Linked DNA regions of Homo sapiens: regions 1, 2, 3, 4, 5 and 6 are each linked to region 7. Evidence: promoter capture Hi-C in 16 types of primary human blood cells and fetal thymus (Javierre and others, 2016). All regions are on one chromosome and are shown on one strand. The core of a region is centred on a gene start or on the middle of the fragment in contact, and the rest is flanking DNA. Distances in the headings are between cores, read along the strand shown.

Region 1 (2,700 bases), core at 92-2,591, 770 kb after region 7:
AGAGGAGAACAGGTATGTTACTCATCAAACAAGCATAACCAAGTTCACAAACATGTCAATAGAGCACAGAGACCGTGTAAGACTTGAGACACTTTTCAGTGAAATATCCACCACACAGTGTGCTAGTATTAATTACTTCAGATACAAAATAAAGGTATCAAAATAATTCTTTGACATCAACTTTTTACCTAAAACCCATTAGTAGCTGTCAGCCACATAACACAGTGTGAACAAGAGGGCAGCTGAGAAACAAAGGCTTGGGCCCTCATGCCGTTTTGAGGCCTGCAGCTCTGAACTAATGCCTTGTGCCACTTCGTGGGCAGCATGCCAGGGCAGCTGCTGTTAGTGGGTCTTCATGGATGTACATGCCACAGGATTTGTCCAAAAACAAAAACAATTTGTCTGAATGTAAGTGAACTTCAAATGAATACCATAACTACAATAAAAGAGAAAAATAAAGAAGGAAATAACTAAATATATATAACCTATGAAAACAGTATTTTATACTGTGCCTTCAGTCATGGGCAGGGTAGGGAATGCTGTTGGGGGAAGACTGACAAAGGAATCCTGAACTCCTTTTAGTAAATGTGTTGATGGAGATACCGTGGGCAAAACAGTGAAACTCTTAAGCATATTATAGGATTGAGCACATGAGCGGATGTGTTGATGTATTGATTTGAGGAGCCAAAATTCTCATGGTAGAAGAAGGGACATACAAATATGGAATGGAGAAGGTAAGAAAGACTCTAAGGGTGGACTGAAATTGGAAGTATTACTATGATCTCATGGTTTCTAACGTGTGTGTACACCCATGTAAATTTATGGGTAAGTAGTAATATAAGCATGTGTGTGTATATGAGAGAAAGAGAAACCAAGGAAGGGAGGGAAGGAGAGAGAGAGAGACAGACAGGAAGGAAAGGAGGGAGAGAAGAGAGGAAGGAAGGAAGTGAGGGAGGAAGAGAGAGAGGAAGGGAGGGAGAGAGCGAGGAAAGGAGGGAGGGAGGAAGGAAGTGAGGGAGGAAGAGAGAGCGAGGAAGGGAGGGAGGAGAGAGGAAGGAAGGAAGAGAGAAGAAAGGAGGGAGAGAGAGGAAGGGAAGCAGGGAGGGAGAGAGAGAGGAAGGGAGGGAGGGAAAGAGAGAAAGGGAGGGAAAGAAAGGGAGACAGATACTAAGGAAGGGAGGGACAGAGGAAAGGAAAAGAGAGAGAAGAAGGGAGGGAGAGAAGAAGGAAGGGGGAAAGAGATAAAGGGAAGGAAAGAACGGGAGAGAGAGGAAGGGAGGGAGAAAGACTGAGAGAGGAAGCAAGGGAGAAAGCGAGAGAGGAAGGAAGAGAGAAAGGGAGAGGAAAGAAAGAAGGGAGGAAGAGAGGAAGGAAAGAGGGAGGGAAAGAGAGAGAGGGATGAATGGAGGGGAGAGGCAGGAAGGGAGGGAGAGAGAGAGAGAGAGAGAGGAAGGGAGAAAGCGAGAGAGGAAGGAACAGGGAGTGAGAAAGGAAGGATTGGAGGAAGGAGAGAGAAAAAAAGGAAGGCAGGAGAGAGAGGAGAAGGGAAGTGGGGGAGGAAGGGAGAAGGGGGAATGAAGCGGGGAGAGAGGGGAGGGAGGGAGAGAGAGCTAGAGAGCGGAACGGAGGGAGAAAGTGAGGGAGAGCAGAAGGAAGGGATGGGGAGAGAGGGAGGAAGAGGGAGGGAGGGGGAGAGGGAGGGAGTGGGAGGGAGTGAGAGGGAGAAAGAGGTGGGAGGGAAGAAGGGATAGGCAGAGGGATGGGGGAGGGAGAAAGGGAGGGAGTGAGAGGAGACAGAGGTAGGGAGGGATGGAGGGGGAGAGAGGGAGAGAGAAGGAGGGAGGGAGAAACAGGGAAGGACGGGTGGAGGGAGGGATGACATGGGACTCATCATGTACCCATTATTAGACCAGGCAAGAATTATTAATGGATGCTAAATATGGGGATTGTTTCACTAAGGAGAAGAATATTTGCGTGGTTTTCTTATTACAGACTTACTTTCAAAGGGGGCTGGGGGGAGGAGTAATTATATATTGGAGAAAGGGGACAATGCCTTGACCAGATAATCAAAATCAACATCACCAATGAGGGACAGATAGGCTTATATTATCTCTCTAGGTGGATACTCTAAAGGCACGACATCTCTGCAGCATTCCAGCCAAAAATACATGATGTAAGTCTAATCAAAATGAGGAATGTTTTACTTTTTTTAATGTTGAAAGATTGTATTCTTCAAAAATGTTAATATTATAAAAGAAAGGCTGTGCTAACTTTCCAGATTACATGAGGCCCAAGAGACATGAAAACGAAGTTAACCTTCTGCCCCCAACTGCATCCAGTATTGGAAGAGAAAGTACATTATTAGATCAACTGACAGAATTGGAATATGGACATTAAATAAAAGGATTGTATCAATGTAAAATTATAAGGTTGATTCTGTACTTACGTAAGGCAATATGTCTATGCTTAGAAAATATATACTGGCATATTTAGGGATAAAGGACCATGATGATGTATATAACTTGTAAACGTTTTGGGGAGAATGTGTGTGTGTGTGTTTGTGTGTGTGTGTGTGTGTGTCTGTGTGTGTGTGTGTGTGTGTGTGTGTGTAGTGCGTATGTGTGGGTGTGGGTGTATCTAGTATACAGGGATAGGGAAGGGGCAAATGATAAAGCAAATGAGATAAATAAAACCTTCCCA
Region 2 (2,700 bases), core at 150-2,649, 740 kb after region 7:
TGGCCGGGTGCAATGGCTCATGCCTATAATCCCAGCACTTTGGGAGGCTGAGGCGGGAGGATCTTTCAAGCCCAAGAGTTCAAGACCGGCCTAGGCAACATAGCGAGACCCCATTTCTACCAAAAAATACATATCCATATCTATAGATGTATAGATATTAAAAATTAGTAAATTCCTTGCTTCCCACAGTTCCTGTACTAAGCCAGTCAGAATAAGGGCTGCATGTCACTCCTACATTTCACAGCCTTAGGAATAATCTATATATTTGACTGGCTCAGTGCTGTGTTAAATAAACACAGATTAATTGACTAGGCTGAGGATGAAATAATAATCTGAGGTAGCTGTGAAATTACATAGTTATTTACTTATGTAGTTATTTATTGATCATTATTCCTTCATACTTATTTACTTTTTTCCCCTAGAGAGCTCAATCTGCTCTGTGTGTGTCTTTGAGCCTTTTTTGTATAAAAAGAACCTCAGTTTTTCCAAATGGAGAAAAAAATACATATTTATTTAAGAAGCATCAATAAAAATTACAAGTTGCATGAGAGTTGATATTAGTGGTAGTGTGCCTTACTGTGTCGGTGTTCTTTATATAATAATGCCTTGTGTTATATTTGAATACATGTTTATACAAGACAGTTAACTTTTCTGCTAAGTCAGTAAATGGCATTGATACTTATTACCACAAAGCATGTAAATTTATATCTTATAAGAGTAAATCAATTGACTGATTCATTTTCTCTCAACTGTTTTTATTTTCCAGTGCTTTCTCTAAAATGGATAACATTTGGGGAATTTCATGACATAATTGTAATAAAGCCTCTGTACAATTAAATGGCTTTAACTGAAGCCAAGCATGTTTCTCTTTCCCCTACTTCCCACCTTTTTAAAATTAAAAGCTTCCCAGTCTTTTTAGGTTGTATTTGTCATTTAAAGCATTTTGTATTGCAGCTGGATTCTGAAACTAGGTTAAATTGTCTGTTTCTCCTGGAAACATTCCAACAGAGATCAGTTTCTTTTCTGGACCTTCTAGTTCAATACTTTGCTCTTATATACTGTGTTGAATAGAACTGAACTGCTATTTATTGGATTTGTCAGCCTTAAATTCCAGTTACTATTTTTGCCTCAATGGTGTAGCTATTTAAAAGAATTAAACAGCTTAAGAACTGTATTTTTAGTCTATTTGGGTAGTAATATACTCCTTCCTGTTCATTGTTCTTTCAGACATTTGTCAGAAAATTTCACAAGCATGTAGTTGGTTTGTCCAAGCATAAACTATAACTTCAATATAAAGAAAGCTTAATAATACATACCAGATATACAATTCATTTTATACACACATACAGAAACAGGTAATTTTCCTTGGACTTTTTGTAATTTTGGAAGCCTGTGTAAATTAGTCTACCAGATTATATTATTCGGCCTGTAAACATGGGAGTTCAATAAAATTAATCATCAGAAACACAGTTTAAGTAGCTTGTAACCTCACTGGGGAGAAGCTTGAAATTATTCCGTGCTTTTGGGTTAACTTAACAAAAATTGCTGCCTTTTTTCAACATATAGCCTTTGAATAAGGGAGATAAATTACTAGGTTTGGTTTTGTTTTAGGTGATTTTGATAATACCACGAGTGGTACCTCTGTTTTCATCTTTTGTGTTAGAAAATTTAAAAATAATTAAGCTATAGAATTAATTTTATAGTGATATTATAATCCCAGAAGAATCACAAAACATCCTGTTCTGAGAAGACTTAGTCTGATTATGCTGCTTATTTATTTTATTTTTTGTTTATGGGGTTTTTTGTTTTGTTTTGTTTTGAGATGGAATCTCACTCTTCACCCAGGCTGGAAAGCAGTGGTGCAATCTTGACTCACTGCAATCTCCGTCTCCCAGATTCAAGCGATTCTCCTGCCTCAGCCTCCCAAGTAGCTGGGATTACAGGTGTGTGGCGCCACACCCAGCTAATTTTTGTGTATTTAGCAGAGATGGGGTTTCGCCATGTTGGCCAGGATGGTCTCAAACTCCTGACCTCAAATGATCTGCTGGCCTCGGCCTCCCAAAGTGGTGGGATTACAGGCCTGAACCACCACACCTGGCCTATTTTTTGTTTTTGGGGGCGTTTTTTGCTTTGTATTATTAGAGCAAATGTGGAAGCTTTCCTTAGTAGTTGGCTGATCTGTACTTTTGTTTTTAGATAAATGTTCTTCACTTTGTTTTCAGAAACTACTATTTCTAAAATTAGGAAATACAGATATTTATATTACATAAAGTTAAATACTACCTCAGAAAAAGTGCCTGTTCTTTTTGAAGTGAGTGTCTTCAAGAGTGCAGGGAAGACGATATCTTAAGGAAGATAGAAAGTGACATGCATTAAGTTGCATCTTGGGATCTTTCTTGGCCTTCCCTGTCTTTTCCCATTCTCATAAATGTCTTCCTTAAAAGCCTCAATGTGTGGTAGTCGAGCAGCAGCATGAGTTAGAAATTTATTTTCAATAGATGATGTGCTTTTGAGTTAATTATCCAAACTGACCAAGTTATGCCCAGAAATGTGTCTGTAAGGGACACAAATGTGCCAGTTGCACCAAATTATAGCATACTGGAGTTGAAATGGATCTCAGAAATACTTAAGTGCTAACCAGCCTAACATCCTAAATGTATTTATAAAAATATACAAGTTATTTTTAATATTCTTAAAAAG
Region 3 (2,700 bases), core at 197-2,696, 750 kb before region 7:
AGTTTGTTTCATATCTTTTCTTACTAGAATTCCATTATATGAATACGCCACAAGTTGTTTGTTCTTTTACTTGGTGATAAACATTTGCCTTGTTTCCAGTTTACTTACGATATATAAAACTGCAAGAAACATTTGTATGTAAGTCTCTATATGAGCATATGCTTTCTTTTTTTTGTCGCTAAATAACAAGAAATTGAGTGATCGGGTCATATGAGAGAAGGATATTCAATTTTTAAAGAACTTGTTAAACTGTTTTCTAAATTGGTTGTACCATTTTACCTTCTCACTGGCAGTGGATGAGAGTCCCACTTCCTCCCTATCCTTACCTTATGGATATATCCTGTCCTTGGTATGTTCAGACTTTTAAATTTTAAACATTCTAATAACTATGTGGTCCGAAATCACCTTAATTTTCATTTCCCAAATGACTAATTATGCTGAGAATCAGCTCACTTGCTCATCTGCCATTCATATAGCTTCTTTGGTAAAGTGTCCATTCAAATCTGGGCCCATTTTTAAAGTGCATTATTTGTTTTCTAATAATGTCTTCTAGAGGTTCTTTATATAATCTAAATGCTATGTTTTTCAGCTACTGTATATAATTTTCATTATCTTAACACCATTCTTCAAAGACCAGAAGGTATTTCTGATGATGCACAATTTATCAGCTTTTCACTTGTGGGTTGTATATCTAAGAAATCTTTGCCTAACTCAAGCTCACAAAAATTTTCTTGCATGTTTTCTTCTAGGAATTTTACAGTTTTTGTTTTACGTTTACTTGTCATTCCAAGTAGGCCTCATTCATTTTGAGTTAATATTTGTATATATTGTGATGTATGAAACAAGATTTTTTTAAAAATAAAAATATATAATTTTTCCAACACCATTTATTAAAAAGACTATCCTTTCTCCACTAAATAGCCTTTGCACCTTTGTTAAAAAACAAATGACTGTATGTGCGTGGGCCTATTTCTGGACTCTGTTCTCTTCCATTGATCTGTCTATTTTTATGCCAATACGGCACTGTTTTGACAACTCTAGCTTTAACATTTACCTTGAAGTCAGGTAATGTAAGTCTTCCAACTATGTTATTTTTCAAAGGTGTTGGCTATTTAAGATAACTTATATTTCCTTATAAAGTATGTAATAATCTAGTACATTTTAACAAAAATTTCTACAGACTGCATTGACTCTTTAGATCAGTTTTGAGAGAATTGGCCAGGCGCGGTGGCTCAGGCCTGTAATCCCAGCACTTCAGGAGGCCAAGATGGGCAGATCACTTGAAGTCAGGAGTTCGAGACCAGCCTGGCCAACATGGTGCAACTCCGTCTCTACTAAAAATACAAAAATTAGCTGGGCATGGGGGTGTGCACCTGTAATCTCAGCTACTCAGGAGGCTGAGGCAGGAGAATTGCTTGAACCTGGGAGGTGGATGTTGCAGTGAGCCGAGATTGCTCCACTGCACTCCAGCCTGGAGCGACAGAGAGAGACTCTGTCTCAAAAAAAAATTTTTTTTGAGAGAATTGACATTATAATATTATTGAGTCTTCTGATCTACCAACAATGTATATATCTCCATTTATTTAGATCTTTAATTTCTCTTAGGAATATTTTGATATTTTCAGTTTACTGGTCCTGTACATCTTCTGACAGATGAATCCCAAAGTATTTGACATTTTTGTCAAATGTCAAGTGACCTTTTTTTATTTCAATCTCCAATTGTTGTTAGTACATAAAATTGTAACTGATTTTTGTATAGTGACCTTATATCTTGCAACCTTGCTAAATGCACATAGTAGTTCTAATAGTTTTTTGGTAGATTTTTTTCGCATTTTTAACAAGATGTCATTAGTGAATTGAGAGTTTATTTTTTTCTTTCAAATCTAAATGTCTTTTATTGTATTTATTTATTTTTCCTTATCACACTGATTAGTACCTTCAGGACAATGATGAAGAGAATTGATAACATAAATCTTTGTCTTGTTCCTATTCTCAGGGACAAAGCATTCAGTCTTTCACCATTAAGTAGGGGTGAGTCTATGTTTTTCTTATCTGATAAAGGTAAATCCTTTATCTGGTGGATGAAGTGCCCTTCTATTCCAAGTTTGTTGAGAGTTTTTATCAGGAATAGATGCTGGATTTGTCAAATGCTTTTATTGCATCAATTGAGATGATAGTATGATTCTTACTTTTTAAATTGTTGATATATTTACTTACATTGATCAGTTTTAAAATGTTAAACTAACTTTCCATTCATGGGAGAGGAAACTCACTTAGTCATGATCTACTATGCTTTTTGTATATAATTGGATTCAGTTTAATAAAGTTTTGATAAGAATTTTTGCATCTATGTTTATGAGGGACATTGGTTAGTAGTTTCCTTTTCTAGTCATGTTGTTGTCTGGTAGCAGGTAATGCTGGCCTCATAGGATGAGTTAAGAAGGAGTTCTATCTCTTTCCTTTTCTGGGAGAGTTTGTGTACAACTGGTGTCATTGCTTCTTAAACATTTGGTAAAATTCACCAGTGAAGCCATGTAGGCCTGAAGTTTTTTGTTTTTTGTTTTTTGAGGAAGGTTTTTAATGGCAACTTCAATGTCTTTAATAGAGAGCTATTCATATTATTTATTTTGTGAGTGGACTTTGCTCATTTGTGTCTTTCAAGAAATGTGTACATTTAAGTTGTTGAATGTTTATTAGCAT
Region 4 (2,700 bases), core at 22-2,521, 710 kb before region 7:
GGAGATTTATTATATGTATAAACATGTGTTCTCTGTGCAGGGGATATCAGATGTATGCTAACTCTTTTGTGTAAAGAGATCATGTCTAAATCCCTTGAGTGGCTGTTCAGCTAACGTTTAGAGTCTCTTAATCTTGTATTTGATGCTAAACCAAATAGGCCCTTAGGGAAGAATTAAGAATAAGCCAGACAGTATAAAATTCTTATTTTGTTAAAGTTGAATAGTATTTGTTGCATTAGGTACAACCAGTGTAATCACTATGAGGGTTAGTTGAGTATACTCTCTGTACACATACACTCTAAAATAAAATGACCTAGGTATACAGAAGGACTAAAGGGATTAAAGATTTCTATCTTATTATTTGACATTGAGAGCACTGCCCTTTTGTTGAAACAAAATGTCATTCAGATGAATAGATAAGGTCATACCTCCAACATCACAATGAATCTAAATCGCGGTAAAAATAAGTTGAGTAACAAATTTTTACTTAAAAGCCATCAAATTTTATTTTGTGTTTTTGAGTCTTGGATTTTGTGCACAGAAACATTCTAATATTGTTTAAGCAACAGGGAATAGAAAAGATTAATCAGTAATTAGCAAAGCTTTAAAAAAATGAAAGTGAACATGAGTCCTAAGACACGCTGTGATTTTTGCTTTTTGTTGCTGTTGTCGTTGTTATTGTTGTTTTCGCTTTGTCTTCCAGGCTGGAGTGCAGTAGCATGATCATAGCTCACTGCAGCCTTGGACTCCTGGGTTCAAGTGATCCTTCCACCTCAGCTTCCTGAGGAGTAGTGGGGGCTACAGGCATGTGCCACTGCATTTGGCTAATTAAAAAAAAATTTTTTTTCTGGTAGAGCCAGGATCTTGCTGTGTTGCCCAGGCTGGTCATAAACTAACACTGTGATTTTTTAAACATGAGCTCTCCTTTGGGCTGGCAACGTGATAAAAGAAAATATGTTTTTCTTCTGAGGAAAATAATTATTTATGAACACATTTTTTCTTCATTAAAACATAGATTTAGCCCTAAAGTCTAAGTCAAAATAAAAACAACTTAAATATTGCTCCATAAGGCTAGTAGTTGGTAATTTTTGTTTTTTTTTTTTTGAAATGGGATCTCACTCTGTCACCCAGACTGGAGTGCAATAGTCAAATCTCAGCTCACTGCAAACTCTGCCTCCCGGATTCCGGCGATTCATCTGTCTCAGCCTCCTGAGTAGCTGGGATTACAGATGTACACCAGCACACCTGGCTAACTTTTGTATTTTTAGTAGAGACAGGGGTTTCACCATGTTGACCAGGCTGGTCTCGTACTCCTGACCTCAAATGATCCACCCACCTCAGCCTCCAAGTGCTTGAATTACAGGCGTGGGCCACCATGCTTAGCTAGTTGGTAATCTTTTAAGGTGAGGTTGCATTTACAGTAGTCAGTTGCGTTTACTGCCCTCGCCCCACATTTTGTTTTCAGGGATTCAGTGGAATTTGTTCTTATATTTATTTGTGAATAAGATTACATATTTCACTTTTTTCCCTTTCTTCTCTTTGGCTGTTGCTGTGCTGCATGCTTTAGTAATTATTACCAAGCCCCACCCTCGCTTCCAGATACCCAGGTGGCTTGTATTTTGTACCATGGCTCTGGTAGGGATGTGCTGCCTCTCCTGGATGCTACACAGGGTGCATTGGCCATGCTCAGGCTGAGCATCGCCTGGCTGCTGGTGCTGCAGCCCCTGCCACCCTCTCTGGCCCTGCTTGACATCACTGCCTCCAATTAGCTGCTTTCACTGCAGACACCCTAGAGCCCATACAGCAGATGCTGAGGTACTGGAACCTCAGGGTTGGGGAGGAGATGCTGAACTGCATAATATTCCTTGGAAAAGTGGGAGAGAATTCTTGCCTCCCTTTGAGGGCTGTACTCCATTAAACTGGTCCAGAAGTTTGGGTATAAAGCTTATACCCAAAGGTTTTGAGAAACAGGCATTTTCACTTTTAATTATATGATTACCTCTACTCTTTTTTTTTTTTTTTTTTTTTTTTTTTGAGACAGAGTCTCCCTCTATCGCCCAGGCTGGAGTATGGTGGTACGATCTCGGCTCACTGCAACTTCCACCTCCCAGGTTCAAGCGATTCATTCTGCCACCTCAGCCTCCTGAGTAGCTGGGATTATAGGCTCCCACCACCACACCTGGCTAATTTTTGTATTTTTAGTAGAGATGGGGTTTCACCATGTTCCCCAGGCTGGTCTCGAACTCCTCACGTTAAGTGATCCACCTGCCTCAGCCTCCCAAAGTGCTGGGATTACAGGTGTGAACCACCGCACCCAGCCCCTACTCTATTTAAAATAAGATTCAGGCATGAGTCCACTAGGCTGGACCAGGGAAAGATCTGAAAGACAAACACAGCCATTCTTCTCCCGGATAACTGACTCTTCAGTCTTGGAAGACATGGGCCGGCCTGCTCCTCTTTCCCCTTGGGACAAGTTTTACTTATGTGTGTATTTTTCTTCCCCGGGAGTCACTTGGGTTTTCGTGGAAATAGACTGCTGTTTGCCAAAGCCACGTCTGGGTCCCAGAGTTGATGTATTCAGACAGCACTGTCAACATACTCTAGCTAATGCAACGCTGGCTGGTGAGAAGAGCAGGAAAGTTATATAGGAAGAGAATGAGAGGGAAGATTCCCAAACCCCTTACATACTTATTCATTGTA
Region 5 (2,700 bases), core at 120-2,619, 830 kb after region 7:
CTTTGAGCTCCCTGAGGAATAGTAGCAAATGGAAAATAATGAAAATGTGATGATTTATTTATTTTACCCTTACAGTTCCAAATCAAAATAATAAGATAATCTTTAAGCCACCAATTATATGCAGGAAAGAAGTTCAGTAGTCATTGGAAGGCTGGTTTCTGTAATTCTCACCATGGTATTCCTAGCACCATAGCACCTGGTCTGTGGCAGACACTTAATAAATATCTCCTGAATTGTACACTGTTTTTGTTTTATAAACTATTTCTCAAGGAAACTGAAATAGCATATTGTTTTGGCTTAAAGAGGCTGCAATCTTCTTAATCTCATAGGGAATATTATTGAAAAGAAAGAACCCAGACATCATTGTCTTATCCTTTGTTAAAGTCATGAATTTTTCCACGTGGAATATTGTATGATTTATGGTACTTTAAGAAAAGAAGCTCCCAAGAAAGCATAGTTTGAATGATGAATATTATCAGAAATCCAAAGGCCTGTATCTTCAGCATAAGGGTGAACTAGCCCTCAGGTTTTCATATCTGGTTTGTTCAGGAAACCTCAAGCAGTTCCTAGATGGGTAGTGCTTCTACTGCAGGCAGGAGCATGTGCAAATCCTCTCTGGGGAAAAGAAGCTTCACCCAATGTCTAAGTGCTTCCTATAAATAATTTTTTTTTTTGAGATAGAGTCTCACTTTGTTTCCCAGGCTGGAGTGCAGTGGCACAATCTCGGCTCACTGCAACATTTGTCTCCTGGGTTCAAGTGATTCTCCTGCCTCATCCTCCCAAGTAGCTGGGATTACAGGGGCCTGCTACCATGCTTGGCTAATTTTTTGTATTTTTAGTAGAGATGGAGTTTCACCATGTTGGTCAGGCTGGTCTTGAACTCCTGAGCACAAGTGATTCACCCACTTCAGCCTCCCAAAGTGCTGGGATTACAGGTGTAAGTATCATGCCTGACAATAATTATTGTTAGTATAATAGCAGTACACAAAAATAATAAATGCAAAAGGAGAACAAAACATAACTAAGAACCAGAAAAACAACAGAACAAAGTCCACAAAGATGTCATTGGAATATTAAAATTCCAATAAGAATTGAAACAGTTGAACACAATTAAACAACTGTCATTCTTACTATATTTAAATGAACAAAACATAAGCTTGGATGCATCTACGGGGAAATAGAAGTAAACAACAACAAAAAGCAAATATAATAGAAAAAACAAATATAGCTTCTAGAAATAGAACACACAATCCTGAAATTAAAAGTTCACCAGATTGGTTCACAATCATGTTAGACATAGCTGAGGAGATAATTAATCACCTTGAAAATAGGCACAAAAAATTTTCCAGAAAGTAGCGCAGAGAAACAAAAGATCAAATACATAGAAAAATGATTAATAGGCAGAGAGAAAAAGTCTAACATATATTTTATTGATGTTCTATAAGTAGGGGGGAATGGGGCAGCAGCAACGTATGAACAGAGAAAGGTGAATAATTTTTTAGAAGTGCTGAGAGAGCAAACCACAGATTTGCTGTGAATCGCAAACTGGTTCAATACAAAAAAATTTACACTGAGATTACAGTAAAGCTTAAAAGATCAAAACAATGGAGATCTTAGAAACAACCATGCCCAGAAAAGGCTGGGCATGGTGGCTCATGTTTGTAATCCCAGCACTTTGAGAAGCTGAGGCAAGAGGATTGCCTGACGCCAGGAGTTTCAGAGGAGCCTGGGCAACGTACTGATACTCCATCTCTGAAAAAAAAAAAAAAGGATAATAATTAGCTGGGCATCATGGTGCACACCTGCAGCCCTAGCTACTTGGGAGGCTGAGGTGGGAGGATTGTTGGGTCCAGGAGTTTGAGGCTACAGTGAGCTGTGATTGTACCACTGCACTCTGGCCTCGGTGACAGAGCGAGACCCTGTGTCAAAAACAAAACAACAAAACAAAACAACCAGAGGAAAAAGACATCTTCAAAGGAGCAGCAGTGAGACCAACTGCTGACTTCTCAATGGCAACAATGGGAAACCAAAGACAATGGAATGGCATTGTCAATGCATTAAAAGAAAATAACTACTACTTTATATACCAGAAAGAGCTATTTCAGGAATGATTTTGAAATAGACATATTTTTCATACAGACAAAATGAAGGGTTTTTCATTATCAAATTCTCAATGAGGCAAATTCTAAAGGATATATTTCAAACAGAAATCATATGATACTAAATGGAAGAAATGAATATAGAACAAAAAGTGGTAAACATTGGCTGGGCATGGTGGCTCAAGCCTGTAATCCCAGCACTTTGGGAGACAGTTGTAGGTGGATCACCTGAGGTCAGGAGTTCGAGACCAGCCTGGCCAACGTGATGAAACCTCATCTCTACTAAAAATACAAAAATTAGCTGCATGTGGTGGTGGGCACCTGTAATCACAGCTACTCGGGAGGCTCAGGCAGGAGAATTGCTTGAGCCCAGGAGACAAATGTTGCAGTAAGCCGAGATTGCACCGCTGCACTCCAGCCTGGGTGACAAGAGCAAAACTCCATCTTAAAAAAAAAAAGTGGTAAATATCTAGATAAAATCTATATTAACATTGGTTAGATAAAACAATAATAATACCTTGCGAGGTTTAAAATAAAATTAAAATACATGACAATGCCAGCAAATATGTTGGAGAGGGAGAAATGAAATGTAAGTGTTCTA
Region 6 (2,700 bases), core at 123-2,622, 760 kb before region 7:
CAGGGTCAGGCTTTGTGTCATTTGAAGCCCTCTAGATAGGCCGAGAACCAGAGCTGTTTTTGTAAGGAACACCAGTGAGTCTGGAGATTTTTTTCTTTTGCTTCGGTCTTTTGCAGCTTTCTCTACTAAGGGTTCTCCTTTTTCACCCAAGTAATTGCCTTTCCATCTAATGGCTCAAATGGTCAAAAGGCATCTAATAGTCTCATATGATCGCTGCCTCTCTGGCCTCGCCCTGCTGCTGAGGTCAGCGTGACCTGGAACTGTCCGCTGGTCCCTTTCAGTAACCTGAAGCTTTCACCGTAGATGTGCTGTATTGCCCAGAAGCCATTGTGTCACTGGTCAGGGTCCTGCGGAGGCTGGCTGCCTGCCGGGAGCACCAGCGGGCTTCTGAGGTCTACGTGGCCTTCGCTGTCCGCAATTGAGAGACGTGCCAGCTGTTCACCACCGAGCTAGGTGAGCCCCCACCCCAGCCTGGGCCTGTATGTCCCTGAGCTGTCACTGCAGGACTCCAGTGGAAGTGAAAGAGCTGGGCACCAGGGAAGAGCTAGGATGCCCCACACTCCGACACCATGAGGGGAACTCGGGCAGAGGCCGGTGAGCAGGGTGGGCTCGGGGCATTGGGGGCTTGCAGCAGGAGGAGGGTAGCTCAGCACAGGGAGGGAGGGTCTGAGCCCAGCAGCCCTACTGTGTGCTTCAGAGCAGGGTTCCCTAAGCCCTTGGGCCTCGGTTTCCTCATCTATAAAATGGAGGTGGCAGGAGGGGCAGTCGGGGTCAGGGCTGGACAGAGCTGTGGCCTGCATGACGCTGGAGCACAGGCTGTACAGGCGGATCCTCCACTCCACTGTCTTGAGCACCCAGTTGATGGAAGACGAGCAGGGTGACTATAGAGAAGGGGAACTGGCCCCGTAGTGGGCCACCCACTGTCCTCAGACCTGACATTTGTCAGCCCCCAGCACCTGTGAGGGTGTGCTGTCATTGTCCCATCTCACCGACAAAGACAGTAGGACACACAGAGGCCAAGCGACCCCCGACCCCCTCCCAAAGCCACTGCCCTCCCACACCTGGGCAACAGTGGCCCCAACCCCAGGCCCAGGCCTCCTGCAGGAAGGAAGAGGACTGAATGGAGGGCATGGCAGGCTGAAAGGACGTGGCCTCCTCAAACCCCTTGGTAAAGGGCCTCTGGGGCCACCTGGCAGGGAGGGGCTGGCACACCAGGAAGTAGCCTCCTCCTGGGAGTTAAGCCAGAGCCCAAGTCCTGTCCCCAAGTGGCCTCCAGAGCCACCTTTTCAGAAAAAGTACATCATGCCCATGCCTGTTACCCCTGCTTAAGTCCCCGCCTCCTCCCTGAGCCTCCTGCTGGCCTCTCACCTAGAAGCGGGGGTAGTCCTCGGCCCTCCAGCCAGTGGGTGCAGACCTGGATGTGCTGGAAATGCTTCTGGTGGATGAGGCGGCTGTAATACTCCCTCAGAGGCCCTTTGCCTTCACAGAGAAGAGCAGACACTGCCATGGACCCGTCTCTGTCCCTGCCACATGGCCCCAGGCCCAAGACACTCCCCCTAGGAGGGATCCTTTTCCCAGAAGCTCCACCCCTCGGCAGCTCCAGTCAGGCCCCATCTGGGCCCTTCCAGAAGCAACCCAGGAGCCCCGAGACCTGCAGGGGTGTGTGCACCCTGACCCCTGATGCATAGCCCTGCACCTGCAGCCAGCTGGCCTCGGGCTGCAAACATGGTGGGGTAAGCACTGGCCTGGCACCTGACCACCCACTGGGTGGACCCAGCCTTCTGTCTGTGTTGTGCACAGGGGACACGAGGACTCCCCCTGCCCTGCCGCAGCCCCCAGAGCACATGGTGCGGGTTCCAATCCGCGCCTGCCCTGCCACAGCCTCCAGAGCACATGGCGCGCTTTCCAAACCACTCCTGGGAGCCTAGAGGCCAGAGGAGGGAGGAGAGCAGGACCAGCAGCTGGCCCAGACCCCGCCTCTTCCTACACCACTTCCGCTTTTCTCCCTCCTCACTGAGTCATCTTGAAAGGGCTCAGCAGCAGTAACTGTGGGACAGGGGCTCTTCCATTTGAAAAATTAAAAGAGGCTTGGTTAAGGCACCAATGACATGGCCGGGCACAGTGGTTCATATTTATAATGTCAGCATATTGGGAGGCCAAGGCGGGTGGATCACTTGAGGTCAGGAGTTCAAGACCAGCCTGGCCAACATGGTGAAACCCTGTTTCTACTAAAAATACAAAAATAAGCTGGGTGTGGTGGGCACCTGTAGTCCCAGCTACTCGGGAAGCTGAGGCATGAGAATTGCTTGAATGTGAGAGGCAGAGGTTGCAGTGAGCTGAGATCGCACCACTGCACCCCAGCCTGGGAGACAGAGACTTTGTCTCAAAAAAAAAAAAGACACCAATGACATAACAACAACAGAAAAGATGCTTGGAAACTACTGAAAAAGTAGAAAGCTTGGTATCTACAGATTCACATCTGGGCTCCCTGCCCTGCTGTGAAACCCTCTGAGCCTCAGTTTCCCACGTGTCAAGCAGTATAAGACCCTATGGCAGAGAGCTGCAGTGAGGATTAAGGAGACAAGATCGTGGGAAGCACAGGGTGAAGGCTGCGTGCCCCTCCCCCTCTGCCATCCCCCAGCCAAACAGACACCCAGGGTCCCAGGCAGTACCTGTTATCACACAGACAAGAGAAGGAAG
Region 7 (2,700 bases), core at 76-2,575:
CACAAAATCAGATGAGCTAGTTTATCCAAGATCAGGTGAGTCAGTTTATCAATCTGGGAGGTGCCAGCTGATCCATCAAGTGCAGGGCCTGCAAAATATCTCAAGCACTGATCTTAGATTTTACAATAGTGATATTATCCCCAGGAGCAATTTGGAGAGGGTTAGAATCTTGTAGCCTTCAGCTGCATGAGTCCTAAATCATAATTTCTAATCTTTCGGCTAATTTACTAGTCCTACAAAAGCAGTCTAGTCTCAAGAAGAGGGTTTATTTTGAGAAAGGGCTATCACCTTTGTTTTAAACTATAAGCTATACACTAAGTTCCTCCCAGTGTTAGTTTGGCCTACGCCTAGGAATGAATAAGGATAGCCTGGAGGTTAAAAGCAAGATGGAGTTGGTTAGGTCTGATCTCTTTCACTGTCTCAATGATAATTTTGCAATGGCAGTTTCACATCTGAGGTTTCTATTGCGTGTTCCATGGTATTCAATAATCTCTTCACTCTGGTTGCTGGGAGCTCAAATGATTCCCAGTTCTGTGTGACCTCTCACCATTGTTTGGTGTACTGCTCCCCAGTAATTGTTCTTTCCTGGCCTTGTGGAGTTTCACGTTTTTTATTCAGTTAAAGATTCAAGGTACTCCTAAGCAGATTTCTGAAGCTCTTTTTCCATGTAATTCCCTCCTCTCCAGAATTCTGCCCTACAAATTCCAACCGACTTGGCCTACCCCAATTTCGTCAACTCCAATCTCTGTCTTTTCAACCCAGGAGATCCTAGGTTTCCATATGATTTCCTTTCATCGCACCACAGACTGGAAATCGCCTCTGGGCAAAAGGGCAGGATGATATACGGCTCCTTTTATTTCTTTTCTCTCAGGTAAAACAGTCCACAGCTGTCCGTTGTCCAATGTCTGAATAGGTGTCTCCTATATTTTGTTCCGTTTTCTAATTGTTTATAGTGGGACACTAAGTCCCGACCCATTTTCTTTTCTTGCCCAGAGTGGAAGTTTTAGGAAACTCCTTATGGAAAATGTGAATTGTTTTATTATTTTTTATGGTCGAAAACATCTTTCTCTATGATATCTTCCCACTCACCCTACTTTTTTCCTTCTCAGGAAACACTGACGGGAACACACGTGCCGGTGCTACCCTCCAGTGACTGGACTAGATCCTTGCGCAACTTCAACCCGCGCTAGCTCCGCCTACGGCCGGCCACGCCCCGTCTTCTCACCGGCGCGCCTCCCTCTTGTTCGTCCTCCCTCCCCCTGTGGACTGCGGCGCTGGCGTTCCGCGCACGCCGGCTCACTGCGCCTGCCCGGCGTGTGGACGCCACACGCTCCCGGAAGTGGGAGGTGGCCGCTGGAGTTTGTGTGGCCGCCGCCGCGGGAACGCGAGCCCGGTAATTTTTCAACGGAGAAAGGCGAGGCTTTCGGGCTCTGCAGAGTGAGAGTTAGCAAGTGTCCGGCTCCAGCAACTCTCCTCTGGCGTGACAGCCGGCATGGAGGATCCACAGAGTAAAGAGCCTGCCGGCGAGGCCGTGGCTCTCGCGCTGCTGGAGTCGCCGCGGCCGGAGGGCGGGGAGGAGCCGCCGCGTCCCAGTCCCGAGGTGAGGAGTCGACCCGCGCCTGGCTGTTGGCGCCAGCTGCCCCGTCCCCAAAGCGCCCTCGGCACCCCTTTCTTCTCAGGTGTCCCGCAGAAGGTGCAGCTGTGCGCCCTTGGACCCCAGCCTCTTCCTCGGTGCCCAGCTCCCTGGCTTTATCCTCGGGTGGGTGTCTTGGAGCCCCCTCAGGGCCGAATCACTCTCTGGGAGGGAGGAAATCGTCAAGACCAGTTCTGTCTACAGTGGGTTAACAGGTTCTAAGAGGGAGTTTTGCTTTAAACTTAATTCTGTGTTCACGGTTGCTGTTGTCACTCCATGTAGCCGTTATGGGTAGTTTGCAAGGCTTTATGTTTTTAAAATCTCACCATATACGCTAGGTATGTCACTTCATGCCTGTTTTTAAAAAAAGAAAAAATTTAAAAAGCACTCACCAGCATCCCTGTCTCTGTACCTGTTAAGTGGAGCTTCGTCTTAGCTGCTTTTGCTCATTAACTGGTGTCTCATATAACCATAGTATAAGATTGAATGAATCATTTTGACATCTCATCGGTTGAACTTAGTTACAGTGGCAAAGTTGTAGAACAGTCTTAAAACTTATTTAACGAATGTTAATTGTTGACTAGCGCTGCGGATTGTAAGTGATTGAATACTAAAATTGATCTTTTCCTAATAATAAACATGTTGAACACTTCGTAAAGCTTCATAAAGTGCGTATTTGCAAGAGGCCTCCTAACTCTTGCTCCTTCCGTCCACAGTCAGTTTCCATCTGGCAGCTAGAATGAGCTTTTCAATAACATGAATTTGGCTTATTCCCCTCCTGAGTCACTTCCATTTGCTGCTCTGCGGGGTCGGGTGCCTGCCTCCCTTGGTAATTGCATCTCACACAGTTTTTTCCCTTTTGTTCCCAGTGCCCCTCGCTGCCTTGTGTTCTTTGACATTGGAAAGAAGGTCTCGTTAAGGATCTCTGTATGTTCCTTTTGCCCTGTGTGCACTTCCTTTGGATCCTTGCAATTATCTTTCTCCTTCTAAGGTTGTTATTTCAAAGAGTACTTGCACATCCCTTCTCTTGTAAAGAACCACTCTTCCACCTGCCTCCCTCTTCAGCC

The links. The method cuts DNA at HindIII sites, captures the fragments that hold promoters and counts their contacts. A CHiCAGO score of 5 or more calls a contact.
Region 1: a fragment that was not itself captured here is called in contact with the fragment with the promoter of ERI1 in region 7 in 2 of 17 cell types (naive B cells and total CD4 T cells); the score reaches 5.3 in naive B cells.
Region 2: a contact is called between a fragment that was not itself captured here and the fragment with the promoter of ERI1 in region 7, in 1 of 17 cell types (total CD4 T cells). The highest score is 5.2, in total CD4 T cells.
Region 3: a fragment that was not itself captured here is called in contact with the fragment with the promoter of ERI1 in region 7 in 5 of 17 cell types (total B cells, M0 macrophages, naive CD8 T cells and 2 more); the score reaches 10.1 in total B cells.
Region 4: a contact is called between a fragment that was not itself captured here and the fragment with the promoter of ERI1 in region 7, in 6 of 17 cell types (naive B cells, total CD4 T cells, total B cells and 3 more). The highest score is 6.8, in naive B cells.
Region 5: a fragment that was not itself captured here is called in contact with the fragment with the promoter of ERI1 in region 7 in 1 of 17 cell types (fetal thymus); the score reaches 5.4 in fetal thymus.
Region 6: a fragment that was not itself captured here is called in contact with the fragment with the promoter of ERI1 in region 7 in 4 of 17 cell types (non-activated CD4 T cells, naive B cells, total B cells and 1 more); the score reaches 6.4 in non-activated CD4 T cells.

Annotation. Positions count from the first base shown.
Region 1 is chr8:9,770,251-9,772,950 of GRCh38, forward strand. It overlaps TNKS (tankyrase), which reads left to right. Exons shown (of 27, transcript NM_003747.3): 26 at 1-12. Among named protein-coding and RNA genes, the nearest start is that of MIR597, 30 kb to the left of the region's middle. The HindIII fragment of the contact is 3,049 bases long and covers 1-2,700 here.
Region 2 is chr8:9,743,605-9,746,304 of GRCh38, forward strand. All of the region lies in intron 17 of TNKS (tankyrase), which reads left to right. Among named protein-coding and RNA genes, the nearest start is that of MIR597, 3.3 kb to the left of the region's middle. The HindIII fragment of the contact is 201 bases long and covers 1,300-1,500 here.
Region 3 is chr8:8,255,765-8,258,464 of GRCh38, forward strand. No RefSeq gene overlaps it. Among named protein-coding and RNA genes, the nearest start is that of FAM85B, 30 kb to the left of the region's middle. The HindIII fragment of the contact is 4,421 bases long and covers 1-2,700 here.
Region 4 is chr8:8,290,109-8,292,808 of GRCh38, forward strand. No RefSeq gene overlaps it. Among named protein-coding and RNA genes, the nearest start is that of FAM85B, 64 kb to the left of the region's middle. The HindIII fragment of the contact is 1,342 bases long and covers 601-1,942 here.
Region 5 is chr8:9,833,934-9,836,633 of GRCh38, forward strand. No RefSeq gene overlaps it. Among named protein-coding and RNA genes, the nearest start is that of MIR124-1HG, 68 kb to the right of the region's middle. The HindIII fragment of the contact is 431 bases long and covers 1,155-1,585 here.
Region 6 is chr8:8,236,823-8,239,522 of GRCh38, forward strand. It overlaps the pseudogene FAM86B3P and the pseudogene ALG1L13P. Among named protein-coding and RNA genes, the nearest start is that of FAM85B, 11 kb to the left of the region's middle. RefSeq lists enhancers at 1-548, 549-1,099, 1,355-1,684. The HindIII fragment of the contact is 2,166 bases long and covers 290-2,455 here.
Region 7 is chr8:9,001,572-9,004,271 of GRCh38, forward strand. It overlaps ERI1 (exoribonuclease 1), which reads left to right and starts at 1,326. Exons shown (of 7, transcript NM_153332.4): 1 at 1,326-1,600. The coding sequence starts at 1,493. It overlaps LOC105379227 (a long non-coding RNA gene), which reads right to left and starts at 1,171. Exons shown (of 3, transcript XR_002956680.2): 1 at 1,090-1,171. The HindIII fragment of the contact is 5,155 bases long and covers 1-2,290 here.